Linked DNA regions of Homo sapiens: region 2 is linked to region 1. Evidence: promoter capture Hi-C in 16 types of primary human blood cells and fetal thymus (Javierre and others, 2016). All regions are on one chromosome and are shown on one strand. Each heading gives the region's core, a stretch centred on a gene start or on the middle of the fragment in contact. The rest is flanking DNA. Distances are from core to core; before and after follow the strand shown. Region 1 holds the start of TENT5B (terminal nucleotidyltransferase 5B). Region 2 overlaps WDTC1 (WD and tetratricopeptide repeats 1).

Region 1 (7,066 bases), core at 2,293-4,792:
TGCTGTGGCTGAGCCTCAAGCTCTTTCATCAGTAGCCTCAGAGAGACTTGGTAGTTCAAGGGTTTGGAGACTCTGGACTCAGCCAAAGGCGATTTCTATCTATTTCTTTTCTTTTCTGAGACAGGGTCTCTTTTTGTCACCCAGGCTGGAGTGCAGTGGTGTAAACATGGCTCACTGCAGGCTTGACCTCCCCACCTCAAGCGATTCTCCCACTTCAGCCTCCCAACTAGCTGGGACCACAGGCACGTGCCACCATGCCAGGCTACTTTCTTTTAATTTTTGTAGAGATGAGGTCTCGCTATGAAGGCTGGTCTCAAACTCCTGGTCTCAGATGACTTTCCCACCTCAGCCTCCCAAAGTGCGGGGATTACAGGCATGAGCTACCACTTCCGGCTGCTATCTTTTTTTTTTTAATTTATTTTTATTTATTTATTTATTTTGAGATGGAGTCTTGCTCTGTCGCCCAGGCTGGAGTGCAGTGGCACGATCTCAGCTTACTGGAACTTCCGCCTCCTGGGTTCAAGCAATTCTCCTGCCTCAGCCTCCCAAGTAGCTGGGACTACAGGCACGTGCCACCACACCCGGCTAATTTTTTGTATTTTTAGTAGAGACAGGGTTTCACCATATTGGTCAGGCTGGTCTTGAACTCCTGACCTTATGATCCGCCTGCTTCAGCCTCCCAAAGTGGTGAGATTACAGGAGTGAACAACCGCACCTGGCCTTTTTAAAATTTTTATATAGAGATGAGGTCTCCCTATGTTTTTATGTAGAGATGAGGTCTCCCTGGTCTTACAGGCATGAACCACTGGTCCCCTCCATTTCTTAGCTTTCAAGAAAAGGTAAAACAAAGCAGGCACTTGCCTTGAGGATGATGAAAGGGACTTCCCCAAGGTCACGTGGTCAAGCAGTAGCACAAGTAGTGTGTCCCCTCCCTGAGGGCCAGAGGAAGCCCCTGATCCTAGACAAGATGGAGTGAAGCGAGATGGGCAGCCTCTTGCCTGGGCTCGCCTCCAGAAAGAGGAAGTGGCTGCTCTGTTGTGAGAGTCAGGCTCCTGGGTTTTAGTTCCAGGTCTGTCAGAGTCAACCTGATGGCATTGGGATGTAGTTTACTGTTTCTAGGTCATGATTTCTCCTGTAAATTTGGTGTATTACTCCTTCCCAACCTGCCTGACAGGCGAATGGGAGAATATTACGAGAATGAAATTTAATTTAATATATTGTTAGGAGAACTTTTTTTTGAGAGAGAGAGAGTATAACTATTGTTGCCTAGGCTGGAGTGCAATGGCACAGATCTCGGCTCACTGCAATCTCCGCCTCCCAGGTTCAAGCGATTCTCCTGCCTCAGCCTCCCGAGTAGTTGGGAATACAGGTGCTACAGGTGCCTACCACCACGCCCAGCTAATTTTTTGTATTTTTAGTAGAAATGGGGTTTCACCATGTTAGCCAGGCTGGTCTCAAACTCTTGACCTCAGGTGATCTGCCTGCCTCAGCCTCCCAAAGTGCTGGGATTACAGGCGTGAGCCACCGTGCCTGGTCAGGAGAACAATATTTAAGAAAAAAAATTGCAGCAATGAATCAGATAGACTCAATTTCTGAATTTTTGCTACAGCACATGTTTAAAATCAGAAAAAAAAATTAAAAGCAACAGGTGAGGTTGGGGAAAAATAAAAGTAATAACAGGCCAGGCACAGTAGTTGACACCTGTAATCCCTGCACTTCAGGAGGCTGAAGTGGGCAGATCACTTGAGCCCAGGAGTTCAAGACCAGCCTGGGCAACATGGCCAGACCCTTATCTCTACAAAAAAAAAAAAAAAAACAGAAAAATTAGCTGGGTGCTGTGGCGTGTGCCTGTAGTCCTAGCTACTCAGGAGGCTGGGATTGGGAGGATTGCTTGAGCCAGGGTGGTTGAGGCTGTGGTGAGCCATGATCATGACAGTCAACTCCAGTCCAGGCAACAGAGTGAGACCCTCTCTCAAAAAATAAATAAATAGATAAAAATAAAAAATAAAAGTAACGACAATCATAAGCCTCATCCCCTAGGTCCTGTAAAGTGTGAGAGCAAAACATGTAAACATATTTTTTTTAAATTATGTTTTGTCTAGACCTGCAGAAAAACATGTAAACACATTATTCGTTCTCTAGCTCCAGAAAGGAGCTGGGTCTGCATAGGTACAGTGGAAAAAACATGCACCACAGATTCTATAGCCCTGGTTGAGGACCAGGGCCTTACTAGTTTGCTGTGTGACAGTCGGGTAATCACAAAGCCTCTCTGAGCAGATCTCTCCTTCCCTAAATTGGCTATGCTGTACATCAACGCTCATCATGCTGTGGTTTGCGAGGCCAATCAACAGTGTCTTAGAAAGCCTTTACTTTAGGGCCGGGCACAGTGGCTCACGCCTGTAATCCCAGCACTTTGGGGGTCGAGGTGGGTGGATCACAAGGTCAGGAGTTCAAGACCAGCCTGGCCAATATGGTGAAACCCCCGTGTCTACTAAAAACACAAAAAAATTAGCCGGGCTTGGTGGCGCATGCCTGTAATCCCAGCTAATCGGGAGGCTGAGGCAGGAGAATTGCTTGAACCCGGGAGGCGGAGCTTGCGGTAAGCCAAGATCGCGCCACTACACTCCAGCCTGGGTGACAAAGCGAGACTCTGTCTCGAGAAAAAAAAAAAAAAAAAAAAAAAAAAAGGCCTTTACCTTGGTATGCAGAGTTTATTATTATTATTAATTTTTTTTTTTTTGAGGCGGAGTCTCGCTCTGTCGCCCAGGCTGGGGTGCAGTGGCGCAATCTCGGCTCACTGCAAGCTCCGCCTCCCGGGTTCACGCCATTCTCCTGCCTCAGCCTCCCGAGTAGCTGGGACTACAGGCGCCCGCCACACACCCGGCTAATTTTTTGTATTTTTAGTAAAGACGGGGTTTCACCGTGTTAGCCAGGATGGTCTCGATCTCCTGACCTTGTCATCCGCCCACCTCGGCCTCCCAAAGTGCTGGGATTACAGGCGTGAGCCACCGCGCCGGGCCCAGAGTTGTTTATTATACCTTTCCTAGGCTCTGGAAAACTGCCAGAGCATGAGCAGTGCTGTGCAGAGTTGATCACGTGGCTCAATCTCTTTGGGCTTCTGAAAATAGCAGGACAAGGCTAGGTGACTTCTCAATTTCTTCCAGCGCTAAAAAAAAAAAACAGAAACCTGGAATTTCTCAGTGGTCTGACTCTGCTACAAACTCCGCAGGTCACTTCCCTCCCTCCTGACCCTGGCGGGGCGGGGTGGGCGCTGTCCCTTTAAGTCCAGGCCCGGGCCAATCACAGTGAACAGAAGTTCTTTAAGGACCAAAGGAGGGAATTCAGCCTGAGAAGGAGGGCGGGGCAGGGGCGTGCCCTCTAGCCAATCGGAATCTCCCTAGAGAACAGTGACTCACGTGCAAAGCTCTACAGACCAGTGTCCGGAGCGTTCAGAGGCGGGGCGGCTCTCGCTGTTGGCAGCGGCCCGGACCAATGGGCACGTCGCCCGCGGCCTATAAGAGTCCGCTGGGCCGCGGGCTGCAGGCGCTAGGGTCGGTTAGTCGTCGCCGTCTGAGGTGTTCCCTGGCTTTGTCTCGCCGTCGTTGCCGCCCCGTCCCTGCCTTCGTGCCCCCCGCCTTGGCCCCTGCCCAGCCGCTCTCCCTGTCCTCCTCCCCTTAACCACCCCCACGGTTTCTGCCGTCGGGGCCCGGGGGCCGGGCGGATGATGCCGTCGGAGAGCGGAGCTGAGCGCAGGGACCGGGCGGCTGCTCAGGTGGGGACGGCTGCGGCCACGGCGGTGGCCACGGCAGCCCCGGCAGGCGGCGGCCCCGACCCGGAGGCCTTATCGGCCTTCCCCGGACGGCACCTGAGTGGGCTGAGCTGGCCACAGGTGAAGCGACTGGACGCTCTTCTGAGCGAGCCGATTCCCATTCACGGGCGCGGCAACTTCCCCACGCTGAGCGTGCAGCCCCGGCAGATCGTGCAGGTGAGAGGACGCCAGGCGGGGGATGTGGGGGAATCCCTTCTGAGGCTCTCGTGGCTGGAAGGCATTTGTAGTCTGTTTGACTTTCTAGACAGCTAGGGAAACTGAGGAACGGGGACATGGCTGTAACAATTGCACAGCATTATGAATGGTAGACCAGACCTCCCCCTGCATCTACTAATCCTTCCCCACCTGGCTTTTCCATCTCGACTCTTGGAGAACCCTGATTCCCCACGGATCACTCACCCAGGGCCTGGCTGGGAGAGGGGAGGAGGATGTCAAGGGCATTGGGGGAAGAATTTGTCTCTGCCTGCAAGGACAAAAGACGCCAGGTGGCCCTGGGTGGGTAAGTGTGCATGCTTGAGTCCAAAATAGCTTTTCCTTCCCTATCTGGGCATCCCTGGACCTCACCCTCCTTTCCTCTCTCGAGGTTCTAGGAGCAGCCTCTGCCATTGTGCTCCTACAGCCTTTTGCTGGAGAAACCCCCCCTTCCCCCTCCACCCCGTGGAAAAGCCAAGAAAACTTGTCAGGGACTCCCTCTCTCTCAGCTGGGGTTGTGGCCCAATATTTATTAAGCCGAAGGTCAGACCTGATACCCCACCCCCAAGGGCAACATTAAGTGACCAATTTAGGTGTTTCTTCTCCTTCCCAAGATTGGAAATGAAGGCCAACCCAGGCCTCAGGCCCCACGTCCTCTCTCTCCTGAGGAAAGGGAGAAGAGAATTCTGACAGCCCCTCCCTCCTCCAACTCTTCCCTTTATCTGAACCTCAACGACCCCAAGACTGCTTTTTCATCTGTACAGCCCAGACGCTGTCATGTTCTGAAATACCACAGTGTGGTCATTATTGTACCCATTTTATAGCTGGGGCAGTTTGCCACCCAAGATTACTTAATGAGGTGAAAATCAAACCTAGGGAATTTTGGGTCTTCCCAGGAGCAGATTACAGTAGGTTCAATGTTTTCCCACCCCTTCCCCGGCTCCCAAGGTCAACTTCTAGGTGTTAGGGAGGGTCCTTTGATAAAAGAAACCAAGAAACCCAGCGAGGACTCCTGTGCGTTCCTGCCAACTGATGGCTTCCTTTGGATGAAGTAGGCCTTTCCCCTGCCTCCTACTACCTTGGCTTCCCACAGAGGGGGAGGGTTGCCTGCTGGGGGATTACCTCCCCCACCCTCCCAAGGAACTAGGAACTGGAGGGGGCGGGGGCAGATTCTCCTTGGCTGACTCACACGCGGCCCAGTGGAGTTCGCCGAGGCATTCCTCGGCTGCTCGCTGTCACCTGGGTGATTAGGAAACCAGTCGAGGCTTTAATCCCCGGGACAGTCAAGTCATTCCTGGGGCCCCAGCTGCTGCACCTCCAGGATTGTGGCCCCAGGCATGGCAGGGAGGGGAAGGTGGAGCCCAGTGTGGCAGCCCCCCTCTGCAAGAACAAGGGATACCCTGGAAGGAGGAGAAGTCCTTGCCCTGTCAGTATGGCTCAGATTGCCTCTTGGTGTCTGCTCTGTGCCAAGCCCTGTTTAGGAAACCAAGGGCACAGATGTGACTAGGACTCAGCCTCCATCCCTTCAGGTGCTCCTAGCCAGATGGGGGAGACTCCAGGTCAATAGAAGCTAACTTTACAATGCAATGGTGGTGCCATGTCCTTCTAGACCTGGGTCAGAGATAGCACAGAACAGGGAGCTGTCGGCGATGGTGAGGAAGGGCAGCAGAGACTTCAGAGCTGGGCTGGGAAGTTGGACTTCTGGATTCAGGCCCTGGACTGTTTGTTGTCAATTCTCTTTGCTGGGCTCAGTGTCCCCATCTGTTCAACTGGGATGGATAGATTAGGCTGCTGCTCTCCAACACCCTCTCTGGTTCCAGACTCCAAAGGGGACAGGTGCCTTCACCTGGTCTGTACAGCTGCCTCCACAGCGAAGAAAGTTTCTTGGAAGAAATCCACAGCTGGCAGCTTCTAAAGCTGTTGGGATGTGTGCAGGGATGGGGGCGGGGAGAGGGGGAGGGTGGTGTCGGTTGTTGCCTTGGGGCTTTTCACTGCTGCTGAGTTGTCCTATGGCTCAAAAATTGGAACCTTTCTCCCTCTACCCCCCTGCAAGGCTTTGCCTGTAGTGGCAATCTGAGTGGCTAGAGATTCTGTTCTTGCTTGTACCTGTACTAAAGGGACTCACCCTACTGTAAGGAGCCTTCCCAGAGCTACAGGCAGGGAGGCCTTTTATTGGTTGTGTAACCTTGGACAAGTCCTTTGCCTTCTCTGGGCCCAGAGGATTGAACTAGACAATCTGATTTCTCCAGCTGCAGCCAGAGGGCCTGCATCAGGCGGCAGAGCATGTGAGTTTTGTAAGCCTGCTGGCTGACGGCGTCTGTCAGTCTCCCTGCAGGTCTCAGCAGCAGCCTGGAGCAGAGTGGTTGTGGGGAGGGCCTTGGCATGGGAGAAAGGAGGGTGCAGCCACTGCCCCCTCCATGGCTGGAAAGTCTGATTCAGGAGGCACCAAGCTGCCCTGCAGTACTTGGGTGTGGTGGTATCTGGTGACCGTCTGCCAAACTGGCTGTAGTCACACCTGGGAAGGAGACAACAGCGACTGGCTGGCTGACACAGCTGGCCCCATGGCCCTGACGCAGGGGATTTAACAAGAGTACTGCTACCTACTCACTAGGCCAGATGCCAAGCCCTGGGGTGGGCACCAGCCTGGGAGCAGGAGCTGGCACTGAGTAAGGCTCAGTCAGCCCTAATGGGATCTGAGGAAGGGGCTGGTCTTCTCTGCAGGTTTGGTAGGGTCCTTGGACCAAGGTCTTTGGCCCATGCAGGCACAGCTGCCAGCTGACAGGGTGTGGGTTAGAAGTCCCACAGGCTGGACTGCAGCAACTGGCCTTGTCTGGCCAAGGCATCTCCCAACCCTCACCTTCCTGTTCCCCAACTATTCTGGCTCTGGGCTTCAGTAGCTTGAGGGTTGCCTTTGCTTTGAAATTTAGAAAGGGAAGGTGGATTAGAACACTAGTCTGCTCCTTCTGAACCCTGGGACTGTAATGTGGTAGAAACAGGATAGGCTTTGCTGTTGGCCATCCCTGGGTTTGAAGGCATCTCCACGTG
Region 2 (7,032 bases), core at 2,112-4,611, 280 kb before region 1:
GCTATTTTTGGAGGATCACGGTCCAGAGTAAAGGGCAGGCTTCTCAGCAGGTGTAGCATGCACTTAAGCTCCCCTACACCGCCGCAGTAGAGATACCCTAAGGGAGAACTTACCCCCCGAGGAGTGGCATTTTCTAGGCAAGAGGAAGGTGTACGGCCGCTGCTTGTAAGTCAAGTCAAACAAATAGACCTAGAGTTGAGGGGGGCAAAAAAAGAGATGGAAGCTGTGAGGTAAGGATGTGGTTGAACCAGTAAGCAGGTCTTGGTTTCTCAAGAACTAGAGTCTTGGAACACAGTGAGTGTTGAGCATAGAACAATCAAGCTATCCTAAGAGGTACTTCCAGCAAACCTCAGGCTGGAAAATCTTCCTAGCTCTAGCATTCAGGGTGGGCTATCTGATCTACCCAAAGTCCTGCTTGAAATACTATCATTAATTAGAATCACATTTGGCTGGGCATGGTGGCGTAGCCTGTAATCCTAGCACTTTAGGAGGCTGAGGCAGGAGGGTGGTTGCTTGAGCCCAGGAGTTTGAGACCAGCTTGGGCAACATGGCAAAACCCCGTCTTTACAAGAAATACAAAAACTAGCCAGGTGTGGTGGCGTGTGCCTGTGGTCCCAGCTACTCAGGAGGCTGAGGTGGGGGAATCACTTGAGCCTGGGATGTCGAGGCTGCAGTGACCTGAGATTGTACCACTGCACTCCAGCCTGGGTGACAGAATGAGACCCTGCCTCAAAACAAACAAACAAACAAACAAAATAGAAGGTCAGGTGCAGTGGTTAATGCCTGTAATCCCAGCATTTGGGAGGGTGAGGTGGGCGGATCACCTGAGGTCAGGAGTTCGAGACTAGCCTGACCAACATCGTGAAACCCCATCTCTACTAAAAATACAAAATTAGCCAGGCGTGGCATGTGCCTGTAATCCCAGCTACTTGGAAGGCTGAGGCAGGAGAATTGCTTAAATCCAGGAGGCAGAGCGGAGGTTGCAGTGAGCCGAGATCGCACCATTGCCCTCCAGCCTGGGCAACAAGAGCGAAACTCCAACTCAAAAAAAAAAAACAAAAAACACGTCACATGTTTAAAAAGATGAAGAAGTCCTCAAAGGTCACAAAGCCAAATGTTTACCCTAGCACTACTCCTGAGCTTTTCATGATTCCTTGGACAGGTCCAGGAATGTCTGGCTTATCCTCACCTATTCTGCATCCCGCTTCATTTGTATATATTTGGGCCTTGCCTTGTAATGTCATTAACTGTTTCGTTTGTCATGTCTCCCATCAGCCTGGGGATGGATCATATTTCCCACTTGTCTCTATTATATTTATAATAATGCGAGTCCCAGAGTAAGTGCTCAGTGTTGGTAGAGTAAATAAATGTATGCAAGGCTTACTAAATATCCTGAGAGCACACAAACAGAAGGTTTAGCAACCTGCCATTATCAAAGAACACTTCCCAAAGCTGGCACTAACCCACAGCTTGCTCTGAGCTGCATGCTCTGAGCCCCAGGGATTTCCTCCTAGGAAAATAGCAGACGAGGAAACTGAGGCTCAGAAAAATAAAGAGACTTGCTCAAAGTCACAGTAAACAGCTGCTGAACAGCAGGCCAGCATTTGAACAGAAGTCTGTCCATTCCAAAGCCTATATTCTTAACCAAAATGCCATACTATCATATTTCTATCTAGTTCATTAAGAAAAAATGAAATAAAAAGACTGAGCTAGGACATCTCTCTGGGAACTCCAATGATGCCACATCACCCCCACATTTCAATGTAACATCATTTACCATAAGGCTGTTGTGTCTTGTCTGCCTCAGCAGTGAACATAAGGTACATGCCCCTGGCTGCTGGGCATGGAATGGTGATGGGGCAGAACCACCTTATGCTGTACATACCTGTTCCCCCCCCATGTTGACTAGTAGCTCTGTGCCATTGGGGCTGAAGGTCACATAGGTGGCAACCAGCACTCTCAAACGGTTGTTGTAGTCAGGAAGCTTCACTGGCAGGTGACCTGCAGGGAATAGCCCAGTCATACTAGGGTCCCAGTCCCTTTCAAAGGGGCATGAGATTGTGTGAAGTCAGTCATATCAAAAATTATACCAATCAACTTTAGCATAAAAGCAGCTACAAGTGTTGAGCCCTTACTATATGCACTGGGCTAGTTGCTTTATATATTTTATCTCATTTAGTCATTATAACCCCATTTTACTTAACCTTGATGAGTTTCTTTTCTGTAATTTGCTGAAGGTGACATAGCTTGTCAATGGCAGAGTTGGGATTAAAACTCAGGTCTGTCTGACTCTAAAACCCTTGCTCTTGACCACCATGCCATGCTGTCTCCCTGGACTGCCCCCAAAAGAGTCAGCATCTAGCCGAGAGTTTGGGGCCAGAGCTGTGCTGAGCGCTACCTGCTACGTAATACTGGGCTGCACCGTCCGGAAGGGGTTTCTGCCGGTCACAGAAGGTGTGCACACCCGCTGAAGGGCTCTGCTTCATGCTCTTTCTGGTGGGAAGGAAAATCATATAGGTTAAAGTTACAGCACTGCCCCTGGCTAGACCAGACCACACTCACTAGACGAAAACTTACATTTGTATCTGAGACATACAGGAGGTATTTTTCCTCCTTACCTAAGCAACCCCAAAGGCCCACCAACTAGACAATTACAGACATATACATTACAGTGCTTTACCAGGTAGGTCCTATAAGCTGTCTGGGTCTTCATGACCATCTTATTTTTCCCATTTTACAAACAAGCAAGCTAAGGTTCAAGACCCGCTCCAAGCCATGCAGTGTGTGAGGGGCAGCAGTGGTCACCAAGCCCATGAATGAAAATAAACAGGCGACATTCCTGCATCCATCCCAAGAATCATGGAAAGCCCAGGCTGGAGAGGCAACTCAGGTCTGAGAGTGCTGTGGGGGTTCTGAGTGTTATAAGAACTAGCAGGAAATATTATATACAGTGATTTCTTTAAGAAAGACACTATAAGAGATTTATATAAGAAATTATAAGAATAAATAAATATAAGGAAATCATAAGGAATTTATGTAAGAGATTATGGGTAATTTATACTTTTTTTTTTTTTTTTTTAATTGAGACTGAGTCTCACTCTGCCACCCAGGCTGGAGTGCAGTGGCAGGATCTCTGCTCACTGCAAGCTCCGCCTCCCAGGTTGACGCCATTCTCCTGCCTCAGCCTCCCCAGTAGCTGGGACTACAGGCACCCGCCACCACGCCCGGCTAATTTTTTGTATTTTTAGTAGAGACGGGGTTTCACCGTGTTAGCCAGGATGGTCTCGATCTCCTGACCTCGTGATCCGCCTGCCTCGGCCTCCCAAAGTGCTGGGATTACAGGCGTGAGCCACCACGCCCGGCCTAATTTATACTTTTCATATTTTCCAACATAAGCGAGGATTAAGTTTTTTAAAAAATCACAAAATTGAAGAAAGTCCATTTCATAAAGAAGAAGGGGCCAGGCTGGGTGTGGTGGCTGACGTCTGTAATCCCAACACTTTGGGAGGCCGAGGCGGGCAGATCACCTGAGGTCAGGAGTTCAAGACTAGCCTGGTCAACATGGTGAAACCCCGTCTCTACTAATAATACAAAAATTAGCCAGGTGTGGTGGCAGGTGCCTGTAATCCCAGCTACTCGGCAGGACAACAGCTTGAACCCGGGAGGCAGAGGTTGCAGTGAGCTGAGATTGTGCCACTGCGCTCCAACACGGGTGACAGAGCAAGACTCTGTCTCAAAAAAAAAAAAAAAAAAAAAAGTAAAACAATAAATAAATAAATAAAAGAAGGGGCCAGGCACAGTGGCTCATGCTTGTAGTCCCAGCACTTTGGGAGGTCGAGGTGGAAAGATTGCTTTAGCTCGAGTTTGAGACCAGCCTGGGCAACAAGGAAAGACCCCGCCCCTATAAAAAAATTAAAAAATTAGCCAAGCGAGGTGGCGTGTGACTGTAGTCTCAGCTACTTGAGAGGCTGAGATGGGAGGATCGCTTGAGCCTGGGAGGTTGAGGCTGCAGTGAGCTGTGATAGAAGAAGAGGGCATGGCAATGGCAGTGAGGGAAAGGGGCAGTAGGTTCTCTGGGGACTTACTCACAGGAGACAGGAGGCTGAACTATTCATACCTGTGGTTATGGATCATGCGGATGTCATAGAGCCTCACGAAGGGCCCGCTGGCCCCAACTGCCAGGCAGTTGTTGTCCTGGGGGTTGACAGTGAGGCACTTGGCCTCCACCAGCTGGCCACAGTACTCTGTCAGGTCAATCAGCACCTCCGAGTGTTTGCTGTTCTCTCGAAGGTCATACTGGCTGTGAGAGAGGACAGAGTTAGGGAATTGGGGCTTGGGGTCCTTGAGAGGAAGGCAGGGGAAAAGATAAGTTCTTGTTATGCAAGAGGATTGGGAGGGACTTTGGACCTGTTTCTAAATAAGAATGTCAAAAACAACTCCCATTTCTTGAGTGTCCACAGTGTGCCAGGTACCTGTAGTAGGCTTCTCACACATTCTATTCTACTAGAACTCCTAAGGTGGATACTATTGTACATATTCTACAGATGTTAGTATTATTGCTACTATTATACTACTACTGATTACCAACACTTAGTGAAAATGTGCTTTATGTCCAGTATTGCCCCTTAATTAATTCCTAACGCCATCCCTAGGTATCATTAGAATACTGAAGTTCAAAGATGTTGAATAACCTGACTGAGATGACACTGCTAGTAAGTGCAGAGCTGGGGAAGCTTTCTGAGACTGCATCTTAAACACTGCTCCGTTCCTACCTAATCTAGTTTCTTTCATGAAACAAGGTATGGAGGTGACAGAAAAGAGACTCTGCAGATCATCTAAGAGCTATCTAGATATACCATGGGCCAAGGCAAGCCTAAAAGTCTCATCCACGCAGTAAAGGTAATGCCAAAAAGTCTACCAAACAGCAGCAAACTCCCACCGCTCCAGACGGGGAAACTTTGTGCTGCCAATACACAGGTATCCTCAGAGAGTGGTGGGTAGGGGGGACATCACCTATATGCTCTCCCCTCTTGCCTAGACATCTGTTATCACCTCTTTGCTGTTCACCTTGTCTTTCTAAGCCATCTTCACCAGGCTGCTCTTCCTAAAATATTATTTTACATCACTCTCCTGCTCAAAAAAATTGCAGAGATTCCTCAATACTTTTAGCACAAGTTTACTTTTACCAAACTCCTCAGTCTGGTTTTCAAGACTCAATTTCACATTTCTCTCCAACCTTATTCCTCAGTTTTCTAAATGTGGGTCAATTATAACTACAGAATTCTTTATCCTGCACATGCCATGTTTATTTCTGCCTTTGCAAACTCTGCTCAAGCTGGGGAATACACTCTGCTTTTCCTTGCTCATCCAAATCCTGTCTGTTCTGGAAGGCCCAGCTTATGTTCACCTTCTGCTAGGACACCTTCTCTGACTGTGCCTATGCCTAAACACTTAGGATCCTACCCAATGCGCTAGACGCTCCGCTTCTACCAGCTGGCCCTGGCAAAATCTGGTCAGCCAAGGTCAAAAAGTGCTACACAGAGTTGGACCTGCCACTGACAAAGTGCATTCTGTCTTCTGAGGTTCAGGGATGCAGTGACTTACCCCAGTCAAATACTGAGTGCGATTGCTAGGATTTGACCCCAGGTCTGTCTGACTTCACTGCCTTGCTCTTGACTATGTTATAATTTATATATGACTTAGATATTCCTCATCTGTAAAAGGAAAGAGGGCACAAAGTCCTACAGGAACTCAAGGGAGACAGATTAAAGCAGGCTGGGGAGATAAGAAAGAAGTTCTAAGGTCACAGCTGAAGAAAGGAGTTAAAGAAGGGCAACGACACCATTTTAGAATGAAGGGAAGTAGAGGCAAATGTGTAACAATGCAGGGCACTGGAAAAGGGGACAGTCCATTTTACCATTTCCGGGTGGCTTGCCCCCTCCCAGGTATATAGCCACTGACCAACTGTTCAAGAGAAATGTATCAAGCGGCTCTATGTGCCAGGCGCTGTGCTGGGCTCTAGGGATACAACCAAGAACAAGACAGACATGGAGTTGCTCTAAGAGAGTTTACTTTTACTATTTAGTGAGGATACAGACAAAAAAGTAAACCAATAAGTAAAAATAAAATAAGGCCAGGTGTGGTAGCTCACACCAGCAATCATAGCACTGTGGGAGGCCGAGGTGGGAGGATCACTTGAGCCCAGGAGTTTGAGACCTGCCTGGGCAACACAGAGAAACCCCATCTCTACAAAAAAAATAGAAAAATTAGCCAAGCATGGTGGAGCGTGTCTGTAGTCCCAGGTATTCAGGAGGCTGAGGTGGGAGAATCGCCTGAGCCCAGGAAGTCAAGGCTGCAGTGAGCCATGATCACGCCACTGCACTCCAACCTCGGCAATAGAATGGAGTGAGACCCTGTCTCAGAAAATAAATTAATTAGCTCCCTCTCCCTCTCCCCCTCCCCCTCCCCACGGTCTCCCTCTCCCTCTCCCCACGGTCTCCCTCTCCCTCTCTTTCCACGGTCTCCCTCTCCCTCTCTTTCCACGGTCTCTCTCTGATGCCGAGCCGAAGCTGGACTGTACTGCTGCCATCTCGGCTCACTGCAATCTCCCTGCCTGATTCTCCTGCCTCAGCCTGCCGAGTGCCTGCGATTGCAGGCGCGTGCCGCCACGCCTGACTGGTTTTCGTATTTTTTTGGTGGAGACGGGGTTTCGCTGTGTTGGCCGGGCCGGTCTCCAGCTCCTAACCGCGAGTGATCCGCCAGCCTCGGCCTCCCGAGGTGCCGGGATTGCAGACGGAGTCTCGTTCACTCAGTGCTCAATGGTGCCCAGGCTGGAGTGCAGTGGCGTGATCTCGGCTTGCTACAACCTCCACCTCCCAGCCGCCTGCCTTGGCCTCCCAAAGTGCCGAGATTGCAGCCTCTGCCTGGCCGCCATCCCGTCTGGGAAGTGAGGAGCGTCTCTGCCTGGCCGCCCATCGTCTGGGATGTGAGGAGCCCCTCTGCCTGGCTGCCCAGTCTGGAAAGTGAGGAGCG

The links. The method cuts DNA at HindIII sites, captures the fragments that hold promoters and counts their contacts. A CHiCAGO score of 5 or more calls a contact.
Region 2: a contact is called between a fragment that was not itself captured here and the fragment with the promoter of TENT5B in region 1, in 2 of 17 cell types (M0 macrophages and endothelial precursors). The highest score is 7.9, in M0 macrophages.

What each region holds. Positions count from the first base shown.
Region 1 is chr1:27,009,326-27,016,391 of GRCh38, reverse strand. TENT5B (terminal nucleotidyltransferase 5B) reads left to right here and starts at 3,542. Exons shown (of 2, transcript NM_052943.4): 1 at 3,542-3,985. The coding sequence starts at 3,722. RefSeq lists enhancers at 2,988-3,642, 3,643-4,296. The HindIII fragment of the contact is 29,862 bases long and covers 1-7,066 here.
Region 2 is chr1:27,289,483-27,296,514 of GRCh38, reverse strand. It overlaps WDTC1 (WD and tetratricopeptide repeats 1), which reads right to left. Exons shown (of 16, transcript NM_001276252.2): 7 at 4,118-4,300; 8 at 2,399-2,493; 9 at 1,886-2,001; 10 at 114-189. Among named protein-coding and RNA genes, the nearest start is that of TMEM222, 29 kb to the left of the region's middle. RefSeq lists an enhancer at 6,290-7,032. The HindIII fragment of the contact is 2,749 bases long and covers 1,987-4,735 here.